Linked DNA regions of Homo sapiens: all the other regions are linked to region 3. The links are contacts of gene promoters, found by promoter capture Hi-C in human tissues and cell types (Jung and others, 2019). All regions are on one chromosome and are shown on one strand. Each heading gives the region's core, a stretch centred on a gene start or on the middle of the fragment in contact. The rest is flanking DNA. Distances are from core to core; before and after follow the strand shown. Region 1 has its middle 7.1 kb from the start of ZNF441. Region 2 overlaps CARM1 (coactivator associated arginine methyltransferase 1). Region 3 holds the start of EPOR (erythropoietin receptor).

Region 1 (4,060 bases), core at 904-3,403, 380 kb before region 3:
CAGCCTCCCGAGTAACTGGGATTACAGGCATGCACCACCATGCCCGGCTAATTTTTTGTATTTTTAGTAGATATGGGGTTTCTCCATGTTGTTCAGGCTGGTCTTGAACTCCCAACCTCAGGTGATTCACTCGCCTCAGCCTCCCAAAGTGTTGGGATTACAGGAGTGAACATGTGCAATCTTTTTCCTTCTTTATTATCCTTTGTTATTACCCAATAAAAAGCGTAAGTTTCCCATTGGGATAGTGAGACATCTTTCATTAGTCTTTTGTCATACTTAACTGAATTTGGTCTAGAGGAAAGCAGATGCCACCTTCCAAATAGTCTCCTATAATGTGTTCAGATTGGATGGGCTTTATCCTTTAAGTAACAAGTTGTGACAAAATGTGGGAAATGTTATCTACCAAAAAAAGCTCATAAGAGACCCAGTGGTGAGTGGTTTTTTCATGCTTATCCTAGTATGTTTTCTGTTGCTTATAACAGAATAGTAGAAGCTGAGTAATTTATTTAAAAAACAATATTTCTTCCAGCCTGGCCAACATAGTGAAACCCTGTCTCTATTAAAAATACAAAAATTATCCAAGTGTGGTAGCATGTACCTGTAGTCCCAGTTACTAAGGAAGCTGAGACAGGAGAATTGCTTGAACCCAGGAGGAGGCAGAGGTTGCAGTGAGCCGAGATCGTGCCACTGCACTCCCATCTGGGCAACAAAGCAAGAGTCCATCTAAAAAGAAAAGCCAAAAAACAACAAAAAAAATTATTTATTATAGTTCTGGAACCTAGCAAGTAAGAGGGCTTCATGTGGTGAAAGCCTTCTTGGTCATGGGGGCTGTGCAGAGTTTCTAGGTGGTTGAAGGTATCACATGGAGAATGGGCTGAATGTGGTAGCTCAGGTTCCCTTCTTTTTTAATATGGCCATCAGTCCCACTCCTGAGATAACTCATTAATTCAGTAAGCCATGAATTCATGAATGGATTAATTTATTTATGAGGTCTGAACCCTTAAGATCTACTCACCTCTTAAAGGCCTCACCTTTCATTAGTGCCACATTGGCGATTATGTTTCAACAAGCATTTTGGAGGGGACAAACATTCAAACCTAGCAGTGAATGGCCGGGCGCGGTGGCTCACTCCTGTAATCCCAGCACTTTGGGAGGCTGAGGTGGGTGGATCACGAGGTCAAGAGATCGAGACCATCCTAGCCAACATGGTGAAACCCTGTCTCTACTAAAAATACAAAAATTAGCTGGGCATGGTGGTGTGCGCCTGTAATCCCAGCCACTCGGGAGGCTGAGGCAGGAGAATCGCTTGAACCCAGGAGGCGGAGGTTGCAGTGAGCCGAGATTGCGCCACTGCACTCCAGCCTGGAGACAGAGCAAGACTCTGTCTCAAAAAAAACAAAAACAAAAACAAAAACAAGCAAAAAACCTAGTAGTGAATGATCAGGTATGCTCCCTCTGCCAAGCATATCACAAAAGTTTGAACTCTCAGAGGGAACATAGGAGTTCAGCAGATACCATATTTTTTACATAGTTTAGGGACACTCATCCTCCATTATCGCTTATGTTGGTGAAGCCCCCTAACTAAATTTAGTTCCTAGATATAGTGAAAGGTTCAACTTTGTGAGCAAGCATTTGTAACAATATGCGGTCTCAGGACAGCTGATGTTAACTCTTCTGCCCATTAGGTAGGAGGACTTTGTCACATCAGGAATTACAAACATCCTGTACACATAGATATTAGGGGTGATCTAGGCAATAAATGTCACTCCTTTAACTCACCAAGGAGTGGCATTTTATAATTCGACTGTTATTTTACCAAACACGTTTAATTCTAGCATTAGAATTGCATTCTGGGAGAAAATGAGTTTAGAAAGAGGGTAAGAGTTGGATTACCGTGTCGTTGCATAAATGTTTGGACACCACAGCATCATGTGACATTTATGTAGTGAGTACAGATTCCCAGTGCTGTCAGTTTCAGCTTTCCTCCTCTGCACGTGTCGGGTGTTTCAGGACTCAGTGGCCTTTGAGGATGTGGCTTTGATCTTTTGCCTGGGAGGAGTGGGCTTTGCTGGGTCCATCATAGAAGAGTCTCTACAGAGATGTGCTACGGGAAACCATCAGGAACCTAGACTGTATAGGTAAGGGGGACATCATGTCTTTACTTAGTCAATTACGAATATTTGTTTCTTCGTCACCAATGCTGTTCAAAGATTTAGAATATAAAAGAAATACGTTTGACCCTTGAACAATGCAGGGATTAGGGGCACCAGCCCTCAATGCAGTCACAAATCTTCAAATAACTTTTTTCTCCCCCGCAACTTGACTACTAATAGCCTACTGTTGACCAGAAACCTTACTGGTAAGATATACATTCAATTAACACATATTTTATATGTCATATGCATTACATATTGTTTTCTCACAATAAACTAAGGCAGAGAAAAATGTTAATCAGAAAATCACAAGGAGAAAAAACTATATTTACTATTTCATTAAGTAGAAGTGGAGCATCATAAATGTTATCATCCTTATTGTCTTCACATTGAGTAGGCTGAATAAGAGGAGGGGTTGGTCTTGCTGTCTCAGTAGTAGCAGAAACTGAAGAAAATTTGTATGTAAGGAGATCTATGCAGTTCAAACCTGTGTTGTTGAAGAGTCAACTGTGGTTTGGTGAATAAATCATCCATAACTGCAGTCTACATAAAATCTTACATTTTTAATATAATTTTATTTTTATTTATTATTATTTTTTTTTTGAGATGGAGTCTTGCTCTGTCACCCAGGCTGGAGTGTAGTGGCACGATCTTGGCTCACTGCAGCTTCTGCCTCCTGGGTTCAACTGATTCTCCTGCCTCAGCCTCCCGAGTAGCTGGGACTACAGGCGCACGCCGCCATGCCCGGCTAATATTTTTTTGTATTTTTTAGTAGAGACGGGGTTTCACTGTGTTGCCCAAGCTTGTCTCGAACTCCTGAGCTCAGACGATCCACCCACCTCGGCCTCCCAAAGTGCTAGGATTACATGCGTGAACCACCGCCCCCGGCCTCAATGTAATTTTATAATAATATATAGTGATTCTTCTGGGTCTACATTTTAGGAATGAAATGGGAAGACCAAAACATTAAAGATTAGTACAAAATTCCCAGAAGAAATCTAAGGTAATTTGCCCTAGGAAGAGAAAGATATGTCTTTGGAATAATTCTTAAAGTGACAGGAAATTTTTCACACCTATAATTCCAGCACTTTGAAAGGGTGGGGGGGTGGGGCGCAGTTCAGGAGGTCGGGAATTCGAGACCAGTCTGGCCAACATAGTGAAACCCTGTCTCTACTAAAGATACAAAAAATTAGCCAGGCGTGGTGGTGTGAACCTGTAGTCCCAGCTACTTAGGAGGCTGAGGCAGGAGAATCGCATGTACCCGGGAGGAGGACGTTGCAGTCAGTCGAGATCATGCCATTGCACTCCAGCTCAGGCGAAAGTGCAAGACTCCGTCTAAAAAAAAAGACAGGAAAATTTTAAAACAAGCAAAATAAATAAATAAATAAATAAATAAAAAAGAATAATCCTGGCTTAAATTTATTCACTCTTAGAAAATTTTCTTCAAAAACATACTTAAATGGGACATAGCTGTTAAGTGTGTCTGCAAAATAATTTCCTTGGAAAACAGTACTAAGAATTCCCACGTGAATATTACTGTTCCGATGATAGCCACAGTTGAGTTATCTTGCACAGCATTCAGTCCGTTCATGTTCAAACAGGGCATGACACCTAAGCTTTGCATGATAATGTCAACAATGTAAATTTAAGACCTATTAATATATATAAAAAACACTTATAAACAAACCTGTAGTAATTGTACTTCTCTGTTTTTACAGATATCATATGGTAGACTGATTCTGTAAAAGTAAAGGAGGTAGATAATTTGGAGAAACTTTCAGCCACATTCCAGGTGGTATTGTGAACAACAAAAATCTCCCTTGAGGCCGGGCTCGGTGGCTCACGCCTGTAATCCCAGCACTTTGAGAGGCTGAGGCAGGCAGATTACCTGAGATTGGGAGTTCGAG
Region 2 (3,837 bases), core at 161-2,660, 480 kb after region 3:
ACAAGGTCAGGAGATCGAGACCATCCTGGCTAACACGGTGAAACCCCGTCTCTACTAAAAATACAAAAAATTAGCCGGGTGTGGTGACGGGTGCCTGTAGTCCCAGCTACTCGGGAGGCTGAGGCAGGAGAATGGCAGGAACCTGGGAGGCGGAGCTTGCGGTGAGCCGAGATCACGCCACTGCACCCCAGCCTGGGCGACAGAGCCAGACTCATCTCAAAAAAATAAAAATAAAAACAAAACAAAGCAAAAAAAACCAACAGACACTCGTATGCAAGCATTCACAGCAGTACTTATTCACGACAGACACAAGATAGAAATACAACCCAAATGTCCATAAACTGACAAACAGATAAACAAATATGGCTTATCTATAAAATGAAACATTATTCAGCCATAAAAATAAAGGAAGCACTGAGCCATGCTGCAACATGAATGAATAGCAGAAACATCATGCCGAAAGAAGCCAGACACAAATGATTCTATTTATATGAAATAGTCACAGAAGGCACACTGCTGGTGGCTGAGAGCTGGGAGAAGGCAGGAATGGGGAGCAACTGCTTAATGGATGTGGGGTCTCCTTTTGGGGTGACAAACATATTTTGGGAGTAGATAGAGGTGATTGTTATGCAACATTGTAAAAGGGCTAATTTCATGTTATGAAACAACAGCTCTTGACCTCCCAGGCTCAAGACATCCTCCCACCTCAGCCTCCCGGGTAGCTGGAACCTCACGCACATGCCACCACCCCTGGCTAATTTTGTTTATTTTTTTGTAGAAATGAGGGTCTCACTATGTTGCCCAGGCTAGTCTGAAACTCCTGGGGCTCAAGTGATCCTCTCACCTTGGCCTCCAAAGTGCTGGGATTACAGGTGTGAATTTTGTTTCAATAGAAAATGAAAAATGGGCCAGGCGTGGTGGCTCACGCCTGTAATTCCAGCACTTTGGGAGGTGGGCGGATCACTTGAACCCAGGAGTTTGAGACACACCTGTCCAACATGGCAAAACCCCGTCTTTACTAAAAATACAAAAATTAGCAAGGCATGATGGCGGGTGCCTGTAATCCCAGCTACTCAGGAGGCTGAGGCAGGAGAATCGCTTGAACCCGGGAGGTGGAGGTTGCAGTGAGCCGAGATGGCACCACTGCACTCCAGCCTGGACGACAGAGTGAGACTCCGTCTCAAAAAAAAAAAAAAAGAAAAAGAAAAAGAAAACTGTTCCTAACTGACGAGTCCAGGTATGAGGGCCTACAGATATGAGACCTGAAGGGCAGCTCCCCGGCCACACCCAGCCAGTCCTGCCAGACTCTCTCCCACCCCAGGAGCCAGGTGCCGCCCTCCTGAGGGCAGGGCATGGAGGAACCTCCTGAGCCCTGCCAGGAGGGTGTCAGCAGGCCACTGCCCCAGACTCACAGCCTCACTACACCCACAGAGGCCCAAGATAAAGTGCTCCCAGCTGTGGGTGGGTCCCAGGAAGGGACATCCAACCTTGGCATGGTGCCCACACTCATACCCGTCCTGGGGCAGGAGATACTGTCGATCTGTTAGCCACACCTGGGCGACAGCAAGTGGGCCCAGGGAGGCCTGTTTACCAAGCAGCCTGGCAACCCGATGTTGCCTGAGGCGTCCCTCTCTGACCTGGCGCCAGGCAGGCAACTACAGGACCTGTGGCCAAGTGAAGCCTGGCTGTGCCCAGCCAGGGCTAGGGCTGGGCTTGGGCCAAAGATGCCGGGGCTGAGGGCAAGTGGATCGCTTCATCACAGCAGCAGCTGCTAAAGCCCGCGGAGCCGGCAGCTTCTCAAAGTCACAGCTTTATCCCCAAGTTAGTCCCTGGCACACAGAAGACACCTGGGAAATACTGACAAACCAAAAAAAAAAAAAAAAAAAACAAGCTAAGCCGTGTTCCTCTCTTTGTTCAGGAGACTCCCGAGCCTCTGAGCTCTGTGCCCATCATTCCTCATGGCTCTCCCCGTCTTGGCCCCTCCCCATGGACACACTCAACCCTCTAGTCCCTACATGGGCCAGGCCCCAGGCCTCTGCACATGCTGTTCCCACTTTCTCCCTTCCTCTCCCCTCCCTCTGCTACTATGGGTCCAGTGGGCCATCGCACACCTGGCCCAGGGTCACCTCTGAGTAGGCAGGGAATGCACAGCCTGTCTCCTGGCTTGCGAACAGCACCCCAGGAGGAGGGTAGAAGGGAGCCTTGGGGCCCGGGACGCACAGGCATCTGGATCCAGCAGTGGCGATTCAGTGCTCGCCACAGATGCAGCCCTGCCCGCAGGAAACTCACTGTGGCATCCTCTCAAGGCCAGCAACCACCTCCCAAAGCGGCCATTCAGCTGGGGAGGAGCAGTATGGGAGCCGCGGAAGGGGGCAGGACCCCAGGATTCAGAAAGGCCCTCTGTGTTGGCCTCTAGAGACAAATCCAAAAAGCACCACTGTTGCGGCATCAGCCGGCGCATGTTGGGGACTGTGTGCACATGGCCTGGAGAGGTGGGGGACAGGCTGCAGGGCTAGCAGGCAAGGGTGACCAAAAAGCAGACTCTAGAGCCAGGAGGCCGTGGTGAGTTCAGGCCAATTGAGGCCAGGCCACAGCTGGGGTATCTTTTTTTTTTGAGACTAAGTCTCACTCTGTCGCCTAGACTGGAGTGCAGTGGCAAAATCTCAGCTCACCGTAACCTCCATCTCCCAGGTTCCAGCGATTCTCCTGTCTCAGCCTCCCGAGTAGCTGGGATTACAGGCATGCACCACCACACCTGGCTAATTTTTGTATTTTTATTAGAGACAGGGTTTCTTTTTTTTTTTTTCTTTTTTTTGAGACGGAGTCTCGCTGTCTCCCAGGCTGGAGTGCAGTGGCGCAATCTTGGCTCACTGCAGGCTCCACTCCCTGGGGTTCACGCCATTCTCCTGCCTCAGCCTCCCGAGTAGCTGGGACTACAGGCGCCCGCCACCTCGCCCGGCTAATTTTTTTTGTATTTTTTGTAGAGACGGGGTTTCACCGTGTTAGCCAGGATGGTCTCGATCTCCTGACCTCGTGATCCGCCTGCCTCAGCCTCCCAAAGTGCTGGGATTACAGGAGTGAGCCACCGCATCCAGCCTAGAGACAGGGTTTCACCTCGTTGACCAGGCTGATCTCAAACTCCTGATCTCAGGTGATTCACCCACCTCGACCTCCCAAAGTGCTGAGATCACCGGTGTGAGCCACCGTGCCCGGCCCAGAGCTAGCATTTCTTTACCCTGCAGTAAAAGGAAAGGGACTGGGATCTCCAGGTGGAGTCTCCAACGGGGAACGTAAAGAACACAAACCCGGACTGAGTGTTACGCTTTGGCCACCCCTGGACCCAGCCTGGGGCTACTCGCTGGCCTGCCACACTGCAGTCGGCCCTGATGAAGCTCTGGGGCCAAGGGAGGAGGGGCTGGAACTGCAGGGAAGGGGGTAGAAAAATTGCCCCATCTTTGAGGCAGCCTTTCTTGCTTCCCAGGAAGCAGCCCTCCACCATGTGAATCCAGGTCACAAACCCCCAGCTGCCATGAGCCAGGCCTGCCCACACCCTGCAGAGGCTGGGATGTCACATGACATAAGAGTGACAACACTCTAACAGCCAGGCTCTGTTCCGGTGCCTTATGTCGACCTCCTGTTTCCTCTTCTCATCACTTCTGGGAGTATCTACTCTCACTATGCCCTTATTTGCTCAGAGAGGTTAAGTGTCTTGCTCAAGGTCACACAGCAAGAGTGGCCGAGGTGACTGGCACCAGCATCCCTATTCCTCACCAATGCACCACCCAATGTCTCTGCGCTTCCTAGAGCAGGCCTTGGCTGACTTTCTGTGTAAAGGAC
Region 3 (3,873 bases), core at 410-2,909:
TTTCAAGCAATTCTCCTGCCTCAGCCTCCTGAGTAGCTGGGATTACAGGCACCCACCACCACGCTCGAATATATATATATATTTTTTGAGACGGAGTCCCGCTCTGTCACCAGGCTGGAGTGCAGTGGCACAATATCGGCTCACTGAAACCTCCGGCTCCTGGGTTCAAGCGATTCTCCTGCAGCCTCCCAAGTAGCTGGGATTACAGGCATGCAGCACCACGCCCATCTAATTTTTGTATTTTTGGTAGAGATGGGGTTTTACCATGTTGGCCAGGATGGTCTTGATCTCTTGACCTCGTGATCTGCCCACCTCGGCCTCCCAAAGTGCTGGGATTACAGGCGTGAGCCACCGCGCCCGGCCTACGCCTGGCTAATTTTTGTATTTTTAGTAGAGACGTGGTTTCGCCATGTTGCCCAGGCTGGTCTCGAACTCCTGACCTCATGATCCGCCTGTCTCGGCCTCCCAAAGTGTTGGGATTACAGGTATGAGCCACCGCGCCCAGCCAATTATTATTATTTTTTGAGATGCAGTCTCACTCTGTTGCCCAGGCTGGAGTTGCAGTGGCATGATCTTGGCTCACTGCAATCTTCATCTCCCAGACTGAAGCAGTTCTCATGCCTCAGCCTCCTGAGTAGCTGGGATTACAGGCACACGCCACCACACCTGGCTAATTTTTGTATTTTTAGTAGAGATGGGATTTCACCATGTTGGCCAGGCTGGTCTCAAACTCCTGACCTCAAGTGATTTGCCCACGTCGGCCTCCCAAAGTGCTGGGATTATAGGCGTGAGCCACCGGGCCCAGCCCAAGAGAATAAAAATGTGGGTGGTAAAAATTTTTTTCCCAAAAATTCGTAAATGAAAATCTCACATATTATGCATACTGCCCAGGAGCATGGCCTAGCACTGTGCAAACACTCAACTGCTGGTCGTTGCAAGGATTATTATTGGCCGGCTTCAGTGGCTCGTGCTGGTATTCCCAGCACATTGGGAGATGGAGGCTGGAGGATTGCTTAAGTCCGGGATTTCAAGACCAGCCTGGACAACATAGTGGGATCCCATCTCTACAAAGAATTTTAAAAATTAGCCAGGTGCAGTGGGAAGATTGCTTCAGTCCAGAGGCTGCAGTGAGCTATGATTGTGCCACTGCACTCCAGCCTGGGTGACAGAGCAACACCCTGAGACAGAGAGAGAGAGGGGGAAGGAGGGAAGGAGGGAAGGAAGGAAGGAAGGAAGGAAGGAAGGAAGGAAGGAAGGAAGGAAGGAAAGGAGAGAGAGAGAGAGAGAGAGAGAGAGAGAGAGAGAAAATAATTTTTATTTATTTCCAGGCTGGGAAGAGATGCTGATTTCTGCGATAAAATCAGTAGGTACATTTTTTGGAATGTTCGCTATGTGCCAGGCTAGATTTTACAGATGAGAAGTCTGAAGCTCAGGTAAGGTAAGTCACCTGTCCAGGGCCACAAAGAAAAAAAAAACGTGTGTCTGAAGCCAGAACGGGAGCTGTTGCGGCCCAACTCCCTCCCCTGCCCCCAAGCGGCCTCTGGGCTCGGGAAGGGCCCCTGCCTCCTCCCGCCAGGCACTTATCTCTACCCAGGCTGAGTGCTGGCCCCGCCCCCTCGGGGATCTGCCACTTAGAGGCGCCTGGTCGGGAAGGGCCTGGTCAGCTGCGTCCGGCGGAGGCAGCTGCTGACCCAGCTGTGGACTGTGCCGGGGGCGGGGGACGGAGGGGCAGGAGCCCTGGGCTCCCCGTGGCGGGGGCTGTATCATGGACCACCTCGGGGCGTCCCTCTGGCCCCAGGTCGGCTCCCTTTGTCTCCTGCTCGCTGGGGCCGCCTGGGCGCCCCCGCCTAACCTCCCGGACCCCAAGTTCGAGAGCAAAGGTAAGGATGAGCTGCGTGTGGACCCCTACGCTGGAGCCTGCAGGACCATGCTGGGGCCTGAACTCCCAGCCTAGGTCCTGGGGGCCATGCCTGTTTCTGGACTTCCTGACCGGGTCCTGGGGGCCAAGCTGGCATCTGAACCCTTAGACTGGGTCCTGGATGGGTGGGGGGCGGGGTGGGGTATGTTAGGATCCAAGACTCCTGATCGCGTCCCGGGCAAGAGCTAGAGTGGGCTTAACATTCCCGTTTTACCTTTTCAGGGAGTCTGGGACATGCTAAATCCTAAGGGGGCTGACTTGGTGCTAAGGTCCCTGGGGGGTGGGGACCAAGCCGACCCTCCCTAGGGGAGGGAGGGTAAAGCCCGGGTCCGAGTTAGAGGGGCCAAGCCACAGGCTACTGTAAACACGGTTTGTGTGAGGGCGCCAGATCACTTGCCCGGCCCGGTGGAGGGAGGGAGGCGGGGGGCACGGTTGGCGCTATCGGTTGGCGGGGAGCCTGCCGGGGCCGATAGGGGGCCCGCCTCTCCGCACACACCCCCAGCCGCGCGCGTGTCCTAGGCTGGGGCGGGGCTGGCAGTCCCGAGCTCGAGGTCTTGAACGCCGCGCCCAGCTCAGCTGGCCGCTGGGTGGGCAGGTGTGCGCCAGTGGTGACGGCGGGGGACAGTAAGGCGAGAAACTTGCCCCTGGGAATTAGGGGGGCACCACCTCTGCGGACCCCTCCAAGGGACCCGCTTGGGAAGATGGCAGGGCGGGGCTTTTTTCTTATCGGGTCCGCCCAGGCTGCGGGAGGGAAGAGGAGGGGGCTGTCTCCCGAGGATAGAGCTCAGACCCCCATGCCCTTCCTTTGTCGCCCCTCCCCAGCGGCCTTGCTGGCGGCCCGGGGGCCCGAAGAGCTTCTGTGCTTCACCGAGCGGTTGGAGGACTTGGTGTGTTTCTGGGAGGAAGCGGCGAGCGCTGGGGTGGGCCCGGGCAACTACAGCTTCTCCTACCAGCTCGAGTGAGTCCGATCCGGCGGGTGCCTCCAAGGGCGGAGGGAGGGGGTGGGGCAGAGCTCCCTGGAGGTCGTAGCCTCGTATGTCCCCTGCTGTTTGAGGCCCGACGGCGCCTCCAGTCGTGGTCACTGGAGGGAAACCTGCGGGTCCAGGGCTGGCACGCCCTCTATGGGCCGGGGCGCGAACACTCCCGCGATCACCGCTGGAACGCGACCCCAAACATCAGGCTGGGATAACAACGCCTCCAAATCGAGGGTAAGGCGTTACTACGTCGGGGCTGGGACGCCTTCTCGAGGTAGTATCCAAAAGGAGGCCAGCAGTGGCTCATGCCTGTAATCCCAACTCTTTGGAAGGTCGAGGCGGAAGAACCGCTTGAGCCCAGGAGTTCAAGACCAGCCTGGGCAACACAGCGAGATCCCCGTCTCTTAAAAAAAAATTAGACTGGGCGCGGTGGCTCACGCCTGTAATCCCAGCACTTTGGGAGGCTGAGGCGGGCGGATCACCTGAGGTCGGGAGTTTGAGACCAGCCTGGCCAACATGGAGAAACTCTATCTCTACTAAAAATACAAAATTAGCCGGGCGTGGTGGCGCATGCCTGTGATCCCAGCTACTCGGGAGGCTGAGGCAGGAGAATCGCTTGAACCCGGGAGGCGGAGGTTGCGGTGAGCCGAGGTAGCGCCATTGCACTCCAGCCTGGGCAACAAGAGCGAAACTCCGTCTCAAAAAAAAAAAAAAAAAAAGCCAGGCGTGGCGCGTGCCTGTGGTCTCAACTACTTGGGAAGCTGAGGTGGGAGGATCCCTTAAGCCCCAGAATTTGAGGCTGCAGTGAGCCATGATCGCGCCACTGCACTCCAGCCTGGGCGACGAAGGAACACCTTGTCACACACACACACAAGGCTAGACCTTGTGTCACACATACACACTGCCCCCCACAGGCCGGGCAATGCCAACTCCCCGGTCCCCCCTCCCAACCTGCTCCCTTCCCTGGGCGCATAGGGATGA

Evidence for each region. The method cuts DNA at HindIII sites, captures the fragments that hold promoters and counts their contacts. A contact is called where the count stands out against the background at its distance.
Region 1: a contact is called between a fragment that was not itself captured here and the fragment with the promoter of EPOR in region 3, in 1 of the 25 tissues and cell types used here (heart right ventricle).
Region 2: a fragment that was not itself captured here is called in contact with the fragment with the promoter of EPOR in region 3 in 1 of the 25 tissues and cell types used here (spleen).

What each region holds. Positions count from the first base shown.
Region 1 is chr19:11,757,884-11,761,943 of GRCh38, reverse strand. No RefSeq gene overlaps it. Among named protein-coding and RNA genes, the nearest start is that of ZNF441, 7.1 kb to the left of the region's middle. The HindIII fragment of the contact is 5,499 bases long and covers 1-4,060 here.
Region 2 is chr19:10,897,084-10,900,920 of GRCh38, reverse strand. The region is part of intron 1 of CARM1 (coactivator associated arginine methyltransferase 1); the gene reads right to left. Among named protein-coding and RNA genes, the nearest start is that of CARM1, 27 kb to the right of the region's middle. RefSeq lists an enhancer at 1,059-1,676. The HindIII fragment of the contact is 8,039 bases long and covers 1-3,837 here.
Region 3 is chr19:11,382,100-11,385,972 of GRCh38, reverse strand. EPOR (erythropoietin receptor) reads left to right here and starts at 1,659. Exons shown (of 8, transcript NM_000121.4): 1 at 1,659-1,880; 2 at 2,741-2,876; 3 at 3,868-3,873. The coding sequence starts at 1,766. RefSeq lists a silencer at 2,360-2,419 and an enhancer at 3,873. The HindIII fragment of the contact is 19,405 bases long and covers 1-3,873 here.